Regions from separate parts of the Homo sapiens genome. Here all the other regions are linked to region 2. Evidence: promoter capture Hi-C in human tissues and cell types (Jung and others, 2019). All regions are on one chromosome and are shown on one strand. The core of a region is centred on a gene start or on the middle of the fragment in contact, and the rest is flanking DNA. Distances in the headings are between cores, read along the strand shown. Region 1 overlaps LOC105371240 (a long non-coding RNA gene). Region 2 holds the start of CBLN1 (cerebellin 1 precursor). Region 3 overlaps LOC105371240 (a long non-coding RNA gene).

The links. The method cuts DNA at HindIII sites, captures the fragments that hold promoters and counts their contacts. A contact is called where the count stands out against the background at its distance.
Region 1: a contact is called between a fragment that was not itself captured here and the fragment with the promoter of CBLN1 in region 2, in 1 of the 25 tissues and cell types used here (H1 embryonic stem cells).
Region 3: a fragment that was not itself captured here is called in contact with the fragment with the promoter of CBLN1 in region 2 in 2 of the 25 tissues and cell types used here (dorsolateral prefrontal cortex and mesenchymal stem cells).

What each region holds. Positions count from the first base shown.
Region 1 is chr16:48,688,490-48,691,656 of GRCh38, forward strand. All of the region lies in intron 1 of LOC105371240 (a long non-coding RNA gene), which reads left to right. Among named protein-coding and RNA genes, the nearest start is that of N4BP1, 80 kb to the left of the region's middle. The HindIII fragment of the contact is 7,279 bases long and covers 1-3,167 here.
Region 2 is chr16:49,280,166-49,283,247 of GRCh38, forward strand. CBLN1 (cerebellin 1 precursor) reads right to left here and starts at 1,673. Exons shown (of 3, transcript NM_004352.4): 1 at 1,037-1,673; 2 at 758-877. The coding sequence starts at 1,300. SYNAGE (synapse stability regulating cerebellar lncRNA) reads left to right here and starts at 1,897. Exons shown (of 4, transcript XR_933530.4): 1 at 1,897-2,067. RefSeq lists an enhancer at 777-1,394 and silencers at 1,747-1,856, 2,227-2,326. The HindIII fragment of the contact is 18,550 bases long and covers 1-3,082 here.
Region 3 is chr16:48,668,818-48,671,733 of GRCh38, forward strand. The region is part of intron 1 of LOC105371240 (a long non-coding RNA gene); the gene reads left to right. Among named protein-coding and RNA genes, the nearest start is that of N4BP1, 60 kb to the left of the region's middle. The HindIII fragment of the contact is 5,921 bases long and covers 1-2,916 here.

The DNA.
Region 1 (3,167 bases), core at 271-2,770, 590 kb before region 2:
GACACTCAAAAGGCCCCTGATCTTGCCATGATACCACTTTGGGTTCTGAATGCTTTTATGAATGCTTTGCCTTTCCCTCTTATTTTTTTTTCTTTCCCTCTTTTTCATTTTCCTTTTTGGTTTGTTTTTCTTGTTTGCCAGTTTGAGGCTCTAGACATAAGATCTTTTCAATTCACACAAATAATGTGTGTCTGGACATTAATTTGGCCTGAGACTTAAGGAACATCCTTAGAGTAGTCTAGTTAGTTTCTTTCTCCTCCTAAGAGGGAAACAGTATGTGCTCAGTATATTTTTAATCTTCTCAGTGGATGCAGCAGCCAATTGAATTCTTCAGGGATTTAGTTTCTTCTGCCCATGGGGCATTCTCCCTTTATCCTTGAGCAACAAAACTGGTTATTGAAAGAGAACCTTGGCCCAGCAGGTCCTGGGGTAAGTAAAGAGCCCCAGATAAAGAAGTTTATCCCCTGAATGACTGGCCTATATCAGGCCCCTGGGGAGTTCCCATTTAATGCCCTTGATTGGACCACCCTGACGCTCAGGAGTCTGTGATGGGGCTCTACAGATGTAATGACTGCATGGGGCTTTCTGCAGGGTTGTCTCATCCAGGTATCCCAGGATGATTCTGGTCTGTGGCCAAGCAGATGCCATCTTCATGAATTCTTGCTTTTTTGCATAGTGGGGAGAGTGGGGCAGAGGACTCCCCATTCTTCCATAGTTAATGCTTTTCCCATCTCAGAGAACAGCCTGCCTAACTGTCCTCCCTCTGAGGCCAATTTCAGGTTCAGACATTGAGGCTCTGCATCCAACTGTGTCCTTGGAGGAACACAAGATGCCAACTCTTCTTTCCTCCTGCCCCTTGCCACTAGAGTCCCAGGAGTGTCTCCATTTGTAATGAAACTCTAGGATATAAGAGTTCACAATCTTATATAGTATTATTTGATTATTTAAATTTGTTAAATATTTGTCTTTCTTTGCAGCTAATTTATATAGTGCATGCTATAAGGTAAACCTGTTTCCCTACTTCCTTGGATAGAGGTCAGAAGAAACTCATTGATGTTCCGTAGGGTATGAACCTGCTGAACACTGTAAAAATAATACAGAATTATAAGGTGCAATACAGAATAGGAAATGTGCAAAGTGCCTTCCGGGACTCCATGAATAGGCATTTAACAAGGAGTAAACTGAGGCTCACAGACATTAGGGGATTTGTCTAGGTCACACAGCTAGGTCCTCAAACGAGAAAATAGGCTGGAACAGCCTGGAGAAGAGAATTTTCAAGAGAAAGAGAATCTGATTAAAGTTCATATAACTACTAAGGAAATGGAGGGAGTGAGCATGATCCTGTTGAATGATGCTTGGAAGATCTTTTCATATATATATATTGAAATGGAGTCTTGCTCTTGTCGCCCAGGCTGGAGTGCAGTGGCACAATCTTGGCTCACTCCGACCTCTATCTCCCGGGTTCAAATGATTCTCCTGCCTCAGCCTCCCAAGTAGCTGGGATTACAGGCATGTGCCACCATGCCTGGCTATTTTTTTTTTTTTTTGTGGAGACCAGATTTCACTATGTTCCCCAGGCTGGTCTTGAACTTCTGACCCCAGGTGATCCGCCCTCCTTGGCCTCCCAATGTGCTGGGATTACAGGTGTGAACCACCACGCCTGACCCTTTTCTCATCTTTTAATATGAACTTGGCCTTCAGGTCCCAGCTCCAGTATCCTAAGCCTTCCTTTACACCCTTCTAGATGGAGCTAATCACTGCTCCTTGGTTTTCCGTGACACTGGATTCTTAAGGATCCTTCTTAGAGCATCCAACTCACTATTGTGTTATTGTCCTCTGTGTTAGTCAGGGTTCTCCAGAGAAACAGAAACAAGATGTGTGTATACAGAAAGGTTTACTTGAAAGAATTGACTCATGTGACTGTGGAAACTTGGTGAGCTTAAAATCTGATGGGTAGGCTGGAGACCCAGGGAAGCAGGGAAGAGTTTCAATTTGAGTCCAAAGGCTGTCTGCTGGCAGAATTCCTTCTTATGTAGCGGAAGTCCGTCTTTGTTCTATTCAGGACTTCAACGGAGTGGATGAAGCCCACCCACATGGCTGTCTGCTTCACTCAGAGTCCACTGATTTAAATGTTAATCTTATCCCAAACACCATCGCAGGAATATCCAGAATAATGCTTCATCAAATATCTGGGTGCTGTGGTCCAGGCAAGTTGCCACATAAAATTAACCATCACATCCCCATTCCTGGGTCTGTCTTCACTGCTAGACTGTGGGGTCCTCTGGGCCAGGGACTGTCTTTTATCTTTCTTTCCAGCACTCAGAAAGAACATACAGCAGGTACTCAATACATTCATTTTGATTTGAAAAAAAACAAACAAAATAAACAAACACCCCAAATTGCTTTCAAAAAAGTATTCCTTTTATTCCTACTGCAATTCTCTGCATTCCCCTACTCTTTAATAAGAGGAAACAGAGGCTTAAGGAAATATACCCACGATCACAAACCAGATAAGTGGCAGAGTTCTAGGCTGTGTGCTTTTTGCACTATATAGCACAATGTCCTTTGATTTGATAAAAATGTCAGAGGAGGTGGTCCGGGGTCTGGGGTATTCTGAATCAATGTCTTACAGAAACTGTTATTCAAAATCTAGCCCAACTGTGCTCAGCAACAATGAGAATTTTATTAAGACCTATCATTTGCCTATTAAAATCAATCAGTTATTTTCTGAACAGCTGCTAAATGCCTGTCCTTGACTGGAGACAGGTGATTGATGTATTTCCCTATCCCTCTATTCCTCCATTTCTCAATTCCTCCATCTTCTCCTCCCTCTCTCTCTCCAGCCAATACTTACTGAACATCTACTATGCACCAGGCCCCGGGGGAGGTGCTGGGGCCACAGCGAAGGCTAAGACCTGGTCCTGTTCTCAAGATGCTCATAGTCAGGGTGGTGGTGGGGGGAAGCAGGTGTGTCATCCACTAGCCACAAGGGCTCAACTGCAGCACCCATCTCTAGAGGCAGGGAAGCCTGTGAGCATCATAATGGCTATGATCCCAGCAGGGACTTGGGATCCAGTAGGAATGCCTGTGGGCAGTGAGAATGACCTCTGGGATTCTCAGGCATGTCACAGGCAGGAGAAAGAGAATGAAGGAGATGTGCTATCCTT
Region 2 (3,082 bases), core at 423-2,922:
GGCTCAATTCCCTCCCCCATCCAGCCGCGCCCGCCACCGCCTGGTTTTGCCCCTGTGGTGGCACCGTCAGCCAAGGGCCTCGCGCCCTCTCCCCAGCTGTGCGTCCCACCTCTCTCGGCGCCCAAGGGAAACCTGGACATCTTTGGGGACCCGGAGAGCCGGCGAGTGATTGCTGGGACACGGCTGGAGCCGGGAGAGAGTAGCACTACGCCCCCTCCCTCCCTCCTCTCTCTACCCCTCACCCTCCGGGGCTAAATGCTGCTAGCTCAAAAACCCACAGTCCGCACGGGGTGGGGATTGGGGACAAGTGGGAGAAAACGGGGGCCCCGTCCGTGGTGCTGAAGACAAGCACGCAAGCCGCATCGCAGGCTTCTGAGCCGGGGCAAGGGGTAGGGTGTACTGTCGCGGTGCTTCCTGGGGAGTCCGGGAAGGCTTCCCAAGCGGCAGCTGTCTGGGGCGCTAACAACAGCCGTTACAAGGAAGTCCCTGAAATCCAGGGAACCCTTCGGAGAGGCCCGGAAGGCAGAAGCAGAAAATTCTGTCTCTCGGGGGATGGGGCTGGATCCCAAGAGCCAGAGACAGGGAAAGCAGAGGACAGTTGAAGCCACAGAACTGAGAGGCCCCGCTATCTGTCCCTCCAAGCAGCCCGAAGTACATGCAGCCGCCACTTCTGCCTACCACCTCCGGACAGCCCGAGCACCCCTGAGGCCAGTAACCCCCCTACGGGGCCAGGGCCCGGCACGAGGCGTCGGCTGACCTGTATGGTTTGTCTGTTGTAGACTTTTACCACGTGGAAGTTAAAACTGTAGATCCCTTTGCGCGGGGCGATGAAAGTGCTGCGTTCTGAATCAAAGTTGTTCCCAATGTTCACTAGTACCTATAACGAGACGGGAACGAAGGGGAGTGGGCAGGAATCGGTCCCGGACTGTCGTCCCCGCGCCTCCGCAGAGCCCTTGGAGAGGACCGGGCATCGGTCTTCCATCCATCCCTCCTTCACCAGCCCAATCTGCACGCCGCGGGAGGAAGGAACACTCACCTGGTCGAAGTAGATGATCATGGTGCGATTACTCATCTCGGACGGCTCGTGGTTGGTGCTCCTGATGGCAGAGAAAGCCACCTTGGCGCTGCCAGAGCGCACAGAGATGCCCAGGGCAGTGCCCGTGGGGTCGGACGTGGGGTTGGAGTCGCACACCACCAGGCACTTGCCCTCCAGCACGATGGGCTCCGTCTCATTCTGCCCGCGGGCCGGGCCCGCCAGCCACGCAGCCCCCAGCAGCAGCAGCTCCAGGACGCCCAGCATCGCGCCGCCGGCGCCCACCCCGCCCCCCACCCCCAGGGCTGCTCGCGCCAGCCGCCCCCCCCGTCCCAGTCCCGCTCCGAAGCCCCCTCCTCAGCTCCGTGCGCAGCTCCGCCGCCGCCGCTCTGGACACTACACCTCTTCCTCGCACTCCGGGACTAGCGTCCCCTCCGCGACTAGCGTCCCCTCCGCGCTGTGTTCCCGGAGCCCCTCCCGGGCCTCAGGGGTGCCGCGGCTGCCCAGCCGCACTTGGATGCATAGCCGCTGCTGCTCGGTCCCGCTGCTGCCGCCGCCTCCTGCCCGCACCCGCCGCTGCCGCCGCCGCCGCCGCTCTGAATTATTGATGCAGCCGGCGCTGCAGCCGGAGCGGGCGGAGAGCGCGCGCCGGGCACAAAGGCGCGGACCTCGGCCTGGCCCCGCCCCCGCCGCCTCCCGGCCCGCCTCCCTCCGAGGCCCTGCCCCCGCCCCGGCCGAGGCCACGCCCCCCAGCCAATCCTGACGCGCCGCGCTCCCCACCGAGCCAATGGCGGCGCTGTCCGCGCTCGGCCACCTGACCCCGGGCGCCGTTGTTATTAGGCGCGGCGAGGCGGGTGGCGCGCGGCAGCAGGGTTGGGCTCTCGCCGTGAGTCGACGAAGGGAGCGCGGGCGCGCGCCCGCGTCCGCGCACTGAGAGTCGCCTCGGCCGCTCGCTTTCTCGACTCCCGCCTCGCGCCTCGATCCTGTTCCGCCTCCCTCGGCCCTCCTGCCCGCCCCCACTCGTCGGCCCTCAGGTAGGAGGCGGCGCGCCCCGGGGTCGGGAGTGGAATCGCTGGAGGCTGCGAGTCGCCTGCCCGCCTGTGGGCGCGCCCGTTGGGAGGGGAGCGCCCCCCAGCGGGCGCGGGCGCGAGGGCAGCCGGCGCGCTGGGCGAGCCTGGCTCAGGGTCCCGGCGGCCGGGGTGCAGGGCGCGTGCGCGCGCGGCGGGGCGGGGCCTGCGCGGCTCTGGCGGGCGCACGTGGTGCCCGGGAGCTGCTGGGCGGGCACTCACCGCGGGGACTCGGTGCGGAGCCGGGGCGCCGAGTGTCTCCGTGTCCCTCTGCCCCAGCCGGCGGCCGCGATGGTGGAGCTTGGCCTCTCGCTCTCTCCCGCCTCTCCAGCGACTGCTCTGCCGGCCGCGGAGGTCGGATCGAGCGGTCATTCATTCATTTGTTAATTCGTTCACTTATTCAGGGGAGATCATTGAACCCCTACGGAGTACCGGGTACTGGGCCGGGCGCTGAGGACGCGGGGCTGAGCAAAAGCAGCCGAGGCCCACCTTCGTGCCCCTTAAAACCCAGCGTGCGGGGCGGCAACGAGTACTGCTTTTCTGTTTTGCACTTAAAATTTACATTTTGCATCCGTACTTTTTATTTACTGTGCACCCTTACGGCATGCTTTACGCACCCGTACCTGCACCTCCTAGCCTTGAGTGTAGACACCAGATCCTGAGATGGGCGATTTTTCGAGAATAATTTTTACCCTAAGTGGATTTTCGTGCCACGCATGGACTTGGAACTACACACACGTAGTCCAAAACGTGAAAGTCAAAATGCAGCTTTGCCAAGTGGCAGGGAGAAAGGAGAGCTGAGAAGATGAGGAGAGGAAGGGCGCGCTCCAGGCTTTCCAGCCCGGGTGCGGTAGACGTAGCCCTGAAGGATGAACCCAGGCTGGTAGTAGGGCGGCGGGAGGGCGGGGGGACCTGTCAGTCAAGTCCAAAGCAGAAACGCGGCGCCGGATCCCAGTCAGAGGCCGGCTGGAACGCTTCCCAC
Region 3 (2,916 bases), core at 68-2,567, 610 kb before region 2:
ATGAATTATCTTAGCTTTTGCTTTTCTGTAAATATTTTTGTTTGCCTTCTTTTTTTTTTCTTTAGATGGAATCTTGCTCTGTCACCTAGGCTGGAATGCAGTGGCACGATGTTGGTTCAGTACAACCTCTGCCTCCTGAGTTCAAGCGATTCTCCTGCCTCAGACTCCTGAGTAGCTAGGATTACACATGCCTGCCACCACACTCAGCTAATTTTTGTATTTTTTAGTAGAGACGGGGGTTTCACCATGTTGGCCAGGCTGGTCTCGAATGCCTGACCTCAAGTGATCTGTCCGCCTTGGCCTCCAAGGTGCTGGGATTACAGGTGTGAGCCACCACGCTGGGCCTGCCTTCATTTTTGAGATATATTTTTATTGTATATAGAATCCTAAGTTGACAGTTATTTTTTTCTGTTAGTATTTTAAAGATGTTGTCTCCTTTCTGGATTTCTGATGAGAGGTCTGAAATCATTTTCATCTTTGTTCCTCTGTAAACAATGAGTTATTTTTTTCCTCTGGCTTTCAGGAATTTGATTAAGATGTTGCTTGATGTGCTTTGCTTTATATTTATTTTGTTTGAGGTTTGTTGAACTTCTTGGATCTGTCTTTCTGATTTTCATCAAATTTGTAAAAAAAAAAGTTGGCATTATTTCTTTCAAAGTTTTCTTATGCTTCTTTATATACCTCTTTCTCTGGGACTCCAATTATTAAACTGTTTGATTTTGTTCCATAGGATATTGAGACTGTTCATTTTTATAGTTTTTTATTTTGTTTTGTGCCTTATTTTGGCTAGTTGCTACAGTTACTTCTTCAATTACATATTTTCTTTTATAATATCTAATATCTAGTTATTCCTATCCAGTGAAAGTTTCTCTTGAGCTGTTGTGTTTTTCATTTCTGATATTTCTATTTAAAACAATAACTTCCACTTTTCCTTTCGCTTGTGCTTTTCTTTTAACTAGTTAAGCATTTTGAACACATTTATAAAAGCTCTTTTAATGCCTTTGTGTGTTAATTACATAAGTTTTGTCATTTCTAGGTCTGTTTCCATTGATTAATTTTTTTCTTAAATTTTAGTTTTACATTGAAAAATATTATTTATTTATTTTTGAGATAGTGTCCTGCTCTTTCATCCAGGCTGGAGTGCAGTGGCATTATCTTGGCTTACTGCAGCCTCAGCCTCCTGGGCTATCCATTCTATGCTAGCTAGACAATCTTGGTACCTCCTTTCACAGCCATAGCAGTCATTCCAGGAGTAGATAGTGTCAATCATAGTCTTCAATAGCACTAATATACAGACATAGACAGAGATGCATGTTCTCTGGCTTGGCATGTTAAGCTGGGAGAATGTGAATCTGGGTCAATTAAAGATCATTTCCCTCTGCCTTATGGAGAAAGACTGACTGCTGTGGGAGAGAATGAAATCAACCATTGAGTGAAGAAGAGCAAATGGGTAGAGATAGAAGAATAAAATAGAAAAATAAAAATATTGGGAAATCCCTAGATCCATCTGTGCACAAAGCTAGCAAATCCCCACCTTTCTCTGAACACTTTGAACCAATTAATTTCCATTTTGCTTAGTTTAGTTTGAGCTGAGATTTTCTTACTTATATTTGAAAGAATTTGGTTCAAGACAGCCCCCTCTGTTTTTGTAATAAAGTATAGCTCCAGGGAAGCTACTCACTGACCCCAGAAGCCTTCCCTGCTTTTGGTACTTTATGCTGACATTCCTACCAGGCATACCATGCTATGCTTATCAAAATGGAATTCAGAACAAGTCTTGGTGCCATGGAAAGAACTCAAGCTCAGAGTCAGAAATATGTGGATTAAAGATTTTTTGCTGCCTATTAGCTGTGTGAGCTGTAAGGTTACTGCACATATTCTATTTCCTTCCCAATAAAGATGGGAGGAAGAGGGGAGGAAGAAGACAAGCCCATAGTACCAGTGAGAATTAGATTTAATCACACAGAACTGGAAACCTAAGAATTCTTTGATAACATAGAAGTTTGTTTCTTTGTCATGTAAATTAATTGGAGGTAACTGATCCAGACTTCACAAAGCCATCAGGCAGCCACCCCTTCTAACTTTTTTCTCCACCATCCTAACATATGACTTCTATTCTCAAAGTTCTTCCCTGCAGAATCGATGTGTTTCACCCACCCAGGTCCACAGAGAAATGGTTAGGAAAGTGGACAGGTATTTTTCTGTGTTGGAAATTTTCTTCTCAGAAGGGAGTTTTCCTGTGCTCCTATGGTTCATGCCAGTTAGCAGGATCTGCCTAAGCAGGAAGTTGGATGCTTTCTGAATTTCCAACAAATGGGAAGAGATTCAATAAAAGACTATGCGATAGTAGCAACCATGATGAGTTGTAAGTATTTTTATCAGCTGGGAAAGGTAGTGCTTTGCTTAAAATGATTAAGCTTGGATGCATCTGTGGGGATGGCAAGGAAAGGATGAATATAGGGAAGCTAAATGATTTGGGGACTCTAGGAATATGGGCAAAAGTAAAACCTAATTTCACACAGATGCCTGGCATCTCAAAGGTCCCCTTCTCCCCATCTGCCATGATTCTCCCCATCTGCCATGATTCTCCCCATTCCTCTGGCATCCTTTTTTGGCCTCTTTTTTCCCATAACTTCATCCTTCCTAGCCTCTTGTTTTTCACTCCTCTAGTCCCACCTCCCCTAATCTATCTTCGTAACAGAGCAGGAGATGTCTTCCCAAAACACAATTTTGTTACCTGCTTTTCTATTTTGGTGACTTGGAGGGTTTGTTTTGCATCATGGTGCTAGGTTTTCATCACTAGGACCAGTTTCATCAGGATCCTTAGCCCCTAGGATCCTGGAATAATGTAATTTAAGAGGTTAAGACAAAGCCTACTTGACAGTTAGCCTCTTAGGAGATTTTTATTGATACTGA